2 separate regions of the Homo sapiens genome follow, and region 1 is linked to region 2. Evidence: promoter capture Hi-C in 16 types of primary human blood cells and fetal thymus (Javierre and others, 2016). All regions are on one chromosome and are shown on one strand. The core of a region is centred on a gene start or on the middle of the fragment in contact, and the rest is flanking DNA. Distances in the headings are between cores, read along the strand shown.

Region 1 (4,172 bases), core at 1,499-3,998, 2.0 Mb after region 2:
TGCAGTGACCCCAGTTGGTGCCATTGCACTCCAGCCTGGGTGACAGGGTGAAACTCCGTCTCAAAAAAAAAAAAAAAAAAAAAGAGAGAGAGGTAAGCTACAGCTTAGGATAAAATACTGGCAAACCACATGACTGAGGAAAGTCTTGTATCTAGAATATACAAATTACTTTCAAAACTCATCAATAAAACAAACAATATAATTAGAAAACGTACAAAATACACCAACAGGCTTTTTTTTTTAAAGAAAATACATACGAGAGGTAAATATATGATATTCAACATCATTAGCTACTGGGGAACTGCAAATTAGAACCATAATGACATATTGTTACGTATCTATTAGAATAACTGAAAATTTTTAAAAAGCCATATGGTAATGTCATAACACTGGCAAGCATGTAGAGTAACTGGGTACCTCATATATTGATAGTGGGGTTGTATTACAGTATAGACATTCTGGAAAATATTTGATAGTTTCTTAGTAACACATGCACTTATAAGACAGTAATTCTTCTCTTAAACATTTATCCCAGAGAAATGAAAACTCAGATTCACAGAAACACTTGCACTTTAATGTAATCAGAACCTGGACCAAGAAACAGAGTACTATCACATCCATAAGATTCTTATTTTTAACTCTGTTCTCCTACAGTGAGACATTTGATTATTATTGCTTGCTATTATATGCTTACTTAAGGAGTTCAAATGAGTATTGCTTAATCTCACTATGTGTAAACAATGTCCCATCATTTCTGTTGCCACCTCTCTATCCTCTTGGGTTCTGAATACCTATGATTGGTCTTTGAAAACCTATGCTGGGCTGTCCATATATTCCCTGCCTTTATGGAACATCCTGACTTCCACACCTCCTTCCACTCCCCGACTTCCCACCCTCTTCCCCAGCCTTGCAAACTTAGACTTTAGCATCTCACAGTGGGCAGTCACAGATGCCTCTACTTGACTTTTTATGAGCATAAATGCAGGTAACAATGAACTCTTGAGTTCCACCTTGGACCTCACTGCACCTTTAAAACATATAGTTAATCCAAACCAGGATCTTCCTTTCGGAATTGGCTGGTGTCCTTCAATTAAGAAGGTAATAATATATGTTAGGACTGCAGACCATCCAGAGCGCTGCTGCTGTTTATGAAAAGCCTAAGTGAATTCTAATCCACCTCTCTGTGATAATGCTTTAGAAAATCACATTGCCAATTTTAACTACCATCTTTTCCATATTCGTATTTTCCTGCCCATAGCTGTGTGTTCTTCCTTTTCTCTTCACCAAGTCCTCCCTATCTCCTCTCTCTAAATTCATTTCACTGCATGCTCTGGACTCTCTGTCTTTTGGCAAACAAACTCTCATTCTTAACTTCTCACTTTCACACTCCCTTCATCTTCTCATGAAAATAGCAATTAGGTTCTTCCTGTACTACACTCTCATAAAAAAATATTATTTCTCATCTACCCTTTGTAACTAAAAAAATGACAGTAGGAGTCTCAAATATGCCTGCATTCTATAAAAGCTTATGTAAACTTTTGTTAATCAAGATTACCAAAACATACTAACTAGATTTCATATGATTATTATCACATGCAAGCTTTGTTTTCCTAAATTAAATGTTTTCCCTAGTATAATTATTACAATTTTGATATTACAAAATTTAAATATTTTGGCTATATACTTTTTAGTTTTTTTCTCCCTTTAAAAGCTGAAATGTAATGAAGTACATCAAAAAGAAAAGTGAAGTTTGCTTGCTAATGTCCCACTTTTTAAAGTATACTTCCATATACATAATCAGTTTTGAATAATTTAGTGATGTATATAAGCAAAAACAAGTGCCATTCAAAATTTTGAGAAATGAGTCAAACTGACTAACACAATACAGCTATGCTAGCTGAGTAGATTGAAAGCTACATGTGTTATTAAATCAACAGTCTTTTCTCCATTAGAGAGATAAAACTGATCTTGCCTACATTTTATTGGTACATTGTGTTAGTATCTTCCAGTGTTACAGAATGTTATGCTGATATAGCTCAGAAGATAAGATGAAATATAACTGCCTTATCTCTATAAGGGATTCTCTGGCCAACTCTGGTATAAATTGGGCATGAAATGAATGTATTACTGCAAAAGTGTGGAAATAAAACCCATTATAAACTAGAAATTAACCGTTGCAATGGCAAATCATTTTGTAAGCCACAGGATTTTCTTCCTGACTGCTTTGGTTTATTCTTTTTAAAGCTTCACTGAAAAGCAATTACTTTCCTTTTTCTATTTACTTTTCTTACTTATGACTTTCATATTAATGTGTACCTTGTCCATTTGGTATATATTTGAAGAACTAATTGGTTTTTAAAGGTCTATTGATTTGGTGGCCATAGTCTGTATTTGCTTTTCACCTATCTTTTAAAAACCTATATCCTACAACTTAAACTTGTTAAAAAATAAAACACCTAATAACATAAATTAAGTAAAATTAAAATTTCATTCTCTAATGTATGAAATATGATGGGTCAATACTCTGTAACAATTAGAATGAATTTCTGGTGATTTTTACCTTGTTATTCTCAAATTCCCTTGTATCATGACCATGTGATTAATGTATGGAAAAGTAGCAAGCAAGCACGTTTGTTGTTTATTAAGTGAGTTTACATATATTTAGTAAATTTTAGTACCCATCACTTGTTGTTATAAATAAATTATAATGTCCGGAAATCAATGTATGTATGTAATTTTAAAAACATTTTAAACTATATTATATATTTTGTGACATTTGCTTCATGAAACTTGTTCTAGAGCTTTTAAATCAAACCTATTAAAATTATATAAAGAGAGAGGTTCACACTCTAACACTATATATGCATCTGTGGAAAACAATCGTTGTAAAAATATATCTCCAAATAAAAATCGAAATGGACTCATTGCACTTTTTATCCAGAGTACTAACAAAAACAATACCTATGCAAATAAAACTCTAACACAAGAAGAAATGTTACAATAAATGTTGGCCTTTACAAAACAAAATGTGAGTTATTTGATGTAAAGGAAGGTAAGAAAGGCATAAAACAGCTGAGTTTTGTAAACAAGACAGAAGGAAACTATATGTAGAAGTTGCAGGTGAAGATGCAGGTGAGAGCTCTACGTGAATTACAGGTGAATTATAGTGGCACTGCAGACAGAGGACTCTGGCTCCTTGTCTTTTATTTGACTCACCACCATCATTATGAGAGAGAACTGTAAATAAGCTTTTAATGCAGAGGATGAGGTCAGGCTCAACCAAGGGGAAGATCATGGGGGTAAAAGATAATTCTACCTGGTATTCTTTCCTCTTGCCTATGTTAATACACTTAGTATTCAGTGGACCTTGGTGATATGAGTTTTATGTGCATACATCAATGACACTTCCAAATTATATTGAAGAATTAGCCTACTTAGCATATAGATCAATTCTTATTGTGAGGTTATATACTGAAACAGAGTAGACTATGTTTATTTTACATAAGTAATGTTTTTTCCTTTTACGTAAGTATATGATTTCTGAAGAACTCTTGTTGAAGGACCTGTTGGTTTACACAACTACAGTAGAACCCAGTGAAAATACATTTATGATTTCCATGGAAAAATTCCTCAACAATCAATCTCTTGAAAGCAGTTTCTACATAATAAATATATACTGATCTTTCTGAATATTTTAGAGTAATGGATTCTTTTTACAGATACATGAGGAGACATTCTCTTCAGATACAGAGTTTATTTTCCAAAAATTTTCCTGTGAACTTGCTGATGGCTCCCATATTTTTTTAAGTTTGAGGATTCTAGGTTAAGATCCATTTCTGCAGAAGGATTATAATGAGGTTAGTAAATGTGGGAAAAGCTGTCAGAAATGTTCCTAAATAATACATATTTATTAAAAGCCTTCTGAAATAAAAAAAAAATGATACTAAGTGTGGAGTTGAAAAGAAGTACAACTCACGATTTGTCTGAGAGAATTTTAAATTTCCATCAGGGATTTTTATACAATTTAACAAAACCAAAACAATGTGATTAATGATTTTTAAAAATAAGATCAAAATATGGGAACATAGTGGAGGACAGTCAGATCAAAGTAAAGGTTAAAGAAGGCCTTCAAGTGGATGTAGTATTTAAACTGGATTTGAGAAATATAAGAA
Region 2 (4,082 bases), core at 1,082-3,581:
TTTAAGACACACTTTTCCTGTCAAATAGAAGGCAAAACCCAAGCCAAGGCCCTCAAATCATAATTACATAAATGCCCTTATATTTTCTAAGAAAAGTATGTTTTAAAACTTAAATGATGAAATCCGGACGTGGAATTTTCTGTGGGTAACTCCACTTTGTGTATGTCAATTTTATAGTCTGTTAAATGTTAAGTGGCCTCAGAGTACAGGGAAGTGGAGGAGAGGCCAGACTGCCTGAGGCCATGCTCCTCTCTGGAGCTCAGATCTAACAGTCTTCTGTTTTATTCACTTCTCTCTCATTATTTTCCTGTCTGCAAGGTATGTAGATGCATGGAAATTGGGTCTGCTTCTGGACCCCCAGGAAGCATGGAAGCAATGATTGTAGGGGTCAATGTGGGAAGGGGAGGGAGCAGGGTCCAAGCAGCCTCCCCACAGTCCTAAAATGAGCCTTCCCTGGGCCATCAGGTGTGTAGCCTAAGGTGGAAAAGCTAGTCAGAAAGAAAAAGGGCTGACCCCTGATAGAACTGTCACCTATTATTTCAAAAATCTGTGATTGATGAGCTCTGCCAACCCTCACTAAAATGAACAAATAGACTACTCCAGATATATATTTTATCTTTCATTGTCTTCCACAAGTATAGATTTAACTATGCTTTTGGAGCCAGAAAAGTATTAGTAAAAAAATAATGGGTAAAAACAACTGGAATGAAAACAACTTGAATAAAGATTTGACAAATACATCCCTGGACTCTTAACATCATTTCTTTTACCCAATTCTCTCTAAAGTAAAATCAAATATTTCATTAATAGGAGTGAAACAAAAAACAATAAAACGACCCACAAAATTAAAGATGGATTTTTTTTTTTTTTCTTGAGACAACGTCTCCCTCTGTCGCCCAGGCTGGAGTGCAGTGGCACGATCTCGGCTCACTGCAACCTCTGCTCCCAGGTTCAAGCGATTTTCCTGGCTCAGCCTCCCAAGTAGCTGGAATTACAGGCGTGCGCCAACACTCCCCCGGCTTTTTGTATTTTTAGTAAAGGCGGGTTTCATCATGTTGGCGACGCTGTTCTCGAACTCCTGGCCTCATGTGATCCGCCTGCCTGGGCGTCCCAAACTGCTGGGATTACAGGTGTGAGCCACCTCGCCCGGCTAAAGATGGCTTATTTAAAGCTAGTAGTGAATTAATTCAGTTCCTAATTGAAACCTAGGTTTTAACAATAAACATTTGAATTTTGTTCAAGTTTTCTTCAGGGTACATTATATTATGAGACAGCATTGCTTTTTCACAACGAAACGTGACCATGCCAGAAAATAAAATGTTGCCTTCTTTACGGGCTTCCTTCTCCTTGTCAAACTTTGGTAGCATAGTCAGAAACAACTGAAAGGCAAAATACTAAAACATACAGCTCCAGTAACTTTTTTTTTTTAAGATTCTAAGCCAACAGTTTTTTGGAGCCTGCGGGAGGGGGGCGAGGAGTGTTGAAAGGGCCCTACTAAGCTGAGGTCGAGCCAACAGTGAAGCTTCAAAATTGTCAGCAGGCAGAGTCTCTGGAGAGGCAAATGAATAGGCTTAACAGAAGTCCCTTGCCCTGCAAAAAACGAGGCAGGTGCTAGGGGGGTGGACTTTTTGGATAGGATGGAAACCGGGACGGATGAAGTCTTCTCTGGTTAGAGAGGAAATTTGGTATTAAGAGAGCCTCACTGAATCCCAATAATAACCAAACAACTGGTGTTGTCCAGGGCACCGGCTGGAAAGTGGGAGGCAGGAAGCAGAAAGGCTCAAGCTCCTTTCCCTGAGTCGGTTCAGGATTTTAATTTCAGCCAATGTTTATTGGGGCACGGTGTTAAGCACGGTGATATCAAGCTGAATAAAACGTGGTCTTGTCCTTGAAGAGCGTATAGTTCAGTGAAATGGCTTTAACATTCCTCGTGGGTTTTGATAACTTTTATCCTGGGAGTTGTCAGGGAAGAGCTGCATCTAAATCCATCCATACTTTGGTAAAGATTTCAAAACAGAGGAAGCAAGATACGGGGCGACGAGGTTGGAGGAGAGATGACGGCAGGGGCCGGTGCCAGATTTGGGAGCCGCCAACGCCGGGCTGTGCTGGTGCTGCATGCTGGCAAGGGGCAGCCAAGACCGTGCTCCGCGCGGGCACCCTCGGGCTCGGTCCCAGCAGCTGGCAGTGCCGTGCGGGCGGACTGCGGTGGGCCTGGCAGGGGCCGAGCGTAGGTCCGGAGCAGCTTGCGCGGCCGGCGCCCGCCCCCAGGGGGCAGAGTTCCCGGGCTCGTGCCTGCGCCGCTACCTGGGGCTCAGGCCCAACCGCTCCCCGCTGCGTCCGCGCCTTCTCTTTTCCGGTCCTCTCCGCCGGCCGGGGCTCGGCTGAGCTCCAGATTTCCCCACCCGCGGCCGCCGCCAGGGGACAGGAGCCGAGGCGCGGCAGGGCACCAGCGGCGGGAGGCAAGGTTGGGGAGGCGAGGGCGGTCCGCGTGCGGGGGCGGGAGGGGGCTGGGGGATTCGAGGGACGCGGCAGCCCCGCCCCCGCCCCCTCCTCTTCTCCGCTCCAAGCCCGAGAAGCTGGGGAGCATGGACCAGACCCCGCAGCGCTGGCACCATGACGCTCGCCCGCTTCGTGCTAGCCCTGATGTTAGGGGCGCTCCCCGAAGTGGTCGGCTTTGATTCTGTCCTCAATGATTCCCTCCACCACAGCCACCGCCATTCGCCCCCTGCGGGTCCGCACTACCCCTATTACCTTCCCACCCAGCAGCGGCCCCCGAGGACGCGTCCGCCGCCGCCTCTCCCGCGCTTCCCGCGCCCCCCGCGGGCGCTCCCTGCCCAGCGCCCGCACGCCCTCCAGGCCGGGCACACGCCCCGGCCGCACCCCTGGGGCTGCCCCGCCGGCGAGCCATGGGTCAGCGTGACGGACTTCGGCGCCCCGTGTCTGCGGTGGGCGGAGGTGCCACCCTTCCTGGAGCGGTCGCCCCCAGCGAGCTGGGCTCAGCTGCGAGGACAGCGCCACAACTTTTGTCGGAGCCCCGACGGCGCGGGCAGACCCTGGTGTTTCTACGGAGACGCCCGTGGCAAGGTGGACTGGGGCTACTGCGACTGCAGACACGGTTAGTGGCCTCGGGGCGGCCGCGGAAACTCCGGACGGGCTCGGAGCCAGTGAGGCTTGGGGCCGGCGTACAGGTCTCTTGGAAAAAGTGACGGGGTGTGTGGGGTTGTGGGCTTGCGTTTGCGGGCTGTGATGGTGGGCTGCAGCTGGGTTACCAGTAAGGTATACTGGTGCTGCAAATCTAAGCCAGCCAGGTGTGCTTGTGTGAAGGTTGTCAGGGGTGACAGTTCTATGCAAGGTGCTGAGCTCTGGGTTTCTGAATTTGCTCTGTCCTCTGGCCACTGTGTGTGTGTGTGCGCTCGTGTATTGGGTGACAGTGTGCTTTGGGCGTCTGTTCTCTAGATTAGCTTACGTTGAGTGGGTTACCATATTTACATTAAAGAGGCATAATTACTTGTTCTGGAAAGGGAAATGTTACATTAACGTGGCAATCAATAACCTTCCCTCCATTCTTTAGACTCCGATTTTTAAAAATGTGGTAAAATTTTGCCTTAATTTAGCTGTTGACCTCTGTTTTAAAAAGTATGGCAAAATTATGTGGCCAAAATCAGCCATATTCACATACTCCAGCTCAGTATGGTAAGTATCATCAGTGACTGGAAAAAAAGAAAGGGAAAAGAGATGGGAATACTACTATCTTGGTGAAGTAGCAACTTAATATAGTTATACACAGTTTTCCAGAGCCATTACTTAGCTTTATATGTTTTATCAGGATTAGTTGGTAACATCAGGAGATAAAGGTGGCAAAATGTTTTAGGTTTGTGGTAATAAAAGCATCACACTAATAAATTTAATGTAAATGAATAATCCAGCTTTGAACATTGCTTCATTTTGAATTGTTGGGATTTTGTTGAAATTAGGTTTTTTTTTTTGTTTAAAAACTGAGGAAGAAAAAATATCCTCAAAGTTTGAATTTCTTTTCAACAAAATATTTTTGGCAGCTTTCCATTCACACTGTGGGGCAAGGG

Evidence for each region. Contacts are between HindIII fragments. The CHiCAGO score rates a contact against its expected background, and 5 or more counts as called.
Region 1: a fragment that was not itself captured here is called in contact with the fragment with the promoter of PRSS12 in region 2 in 2 of 17 cell types (M0 macrophages and M2 macrophages); the score reaches 5.5 in M0 macrophages.

The regions. Positions count from the first base shown.
Region 1 is chr4:116,344,776-116,348,947 of GRCh38, reverse strand. The region is part of intron 1 of LOC105377384 (a long non-coding RNA gene); the gene reads right to left. Among named protein-coding and RNA genes, the nearest start is that of MIR1973, 47 kb to the right of the region's middle. The HindIII fragment of the contact is 1,004 bases long and covers 2,247-3,250 here.
Region 2 is chr4:118,351,252-118,355,333 of GRCh38, reverse strand. PRSS12 (serine protease 12) reads left to right here and starts at 2,331. Exons shown (of 13, transcript NM_003619.4): 1 at 2,331-3,115. The coding sequence starts at 2,614. RefSeq lists silencers at 2,105-2,364, 2,395-2,474 and an enhancer at 1,741-2,586. The HindIII fragment of the contact is 7,140 bases long and covers 1,525-4,082 here.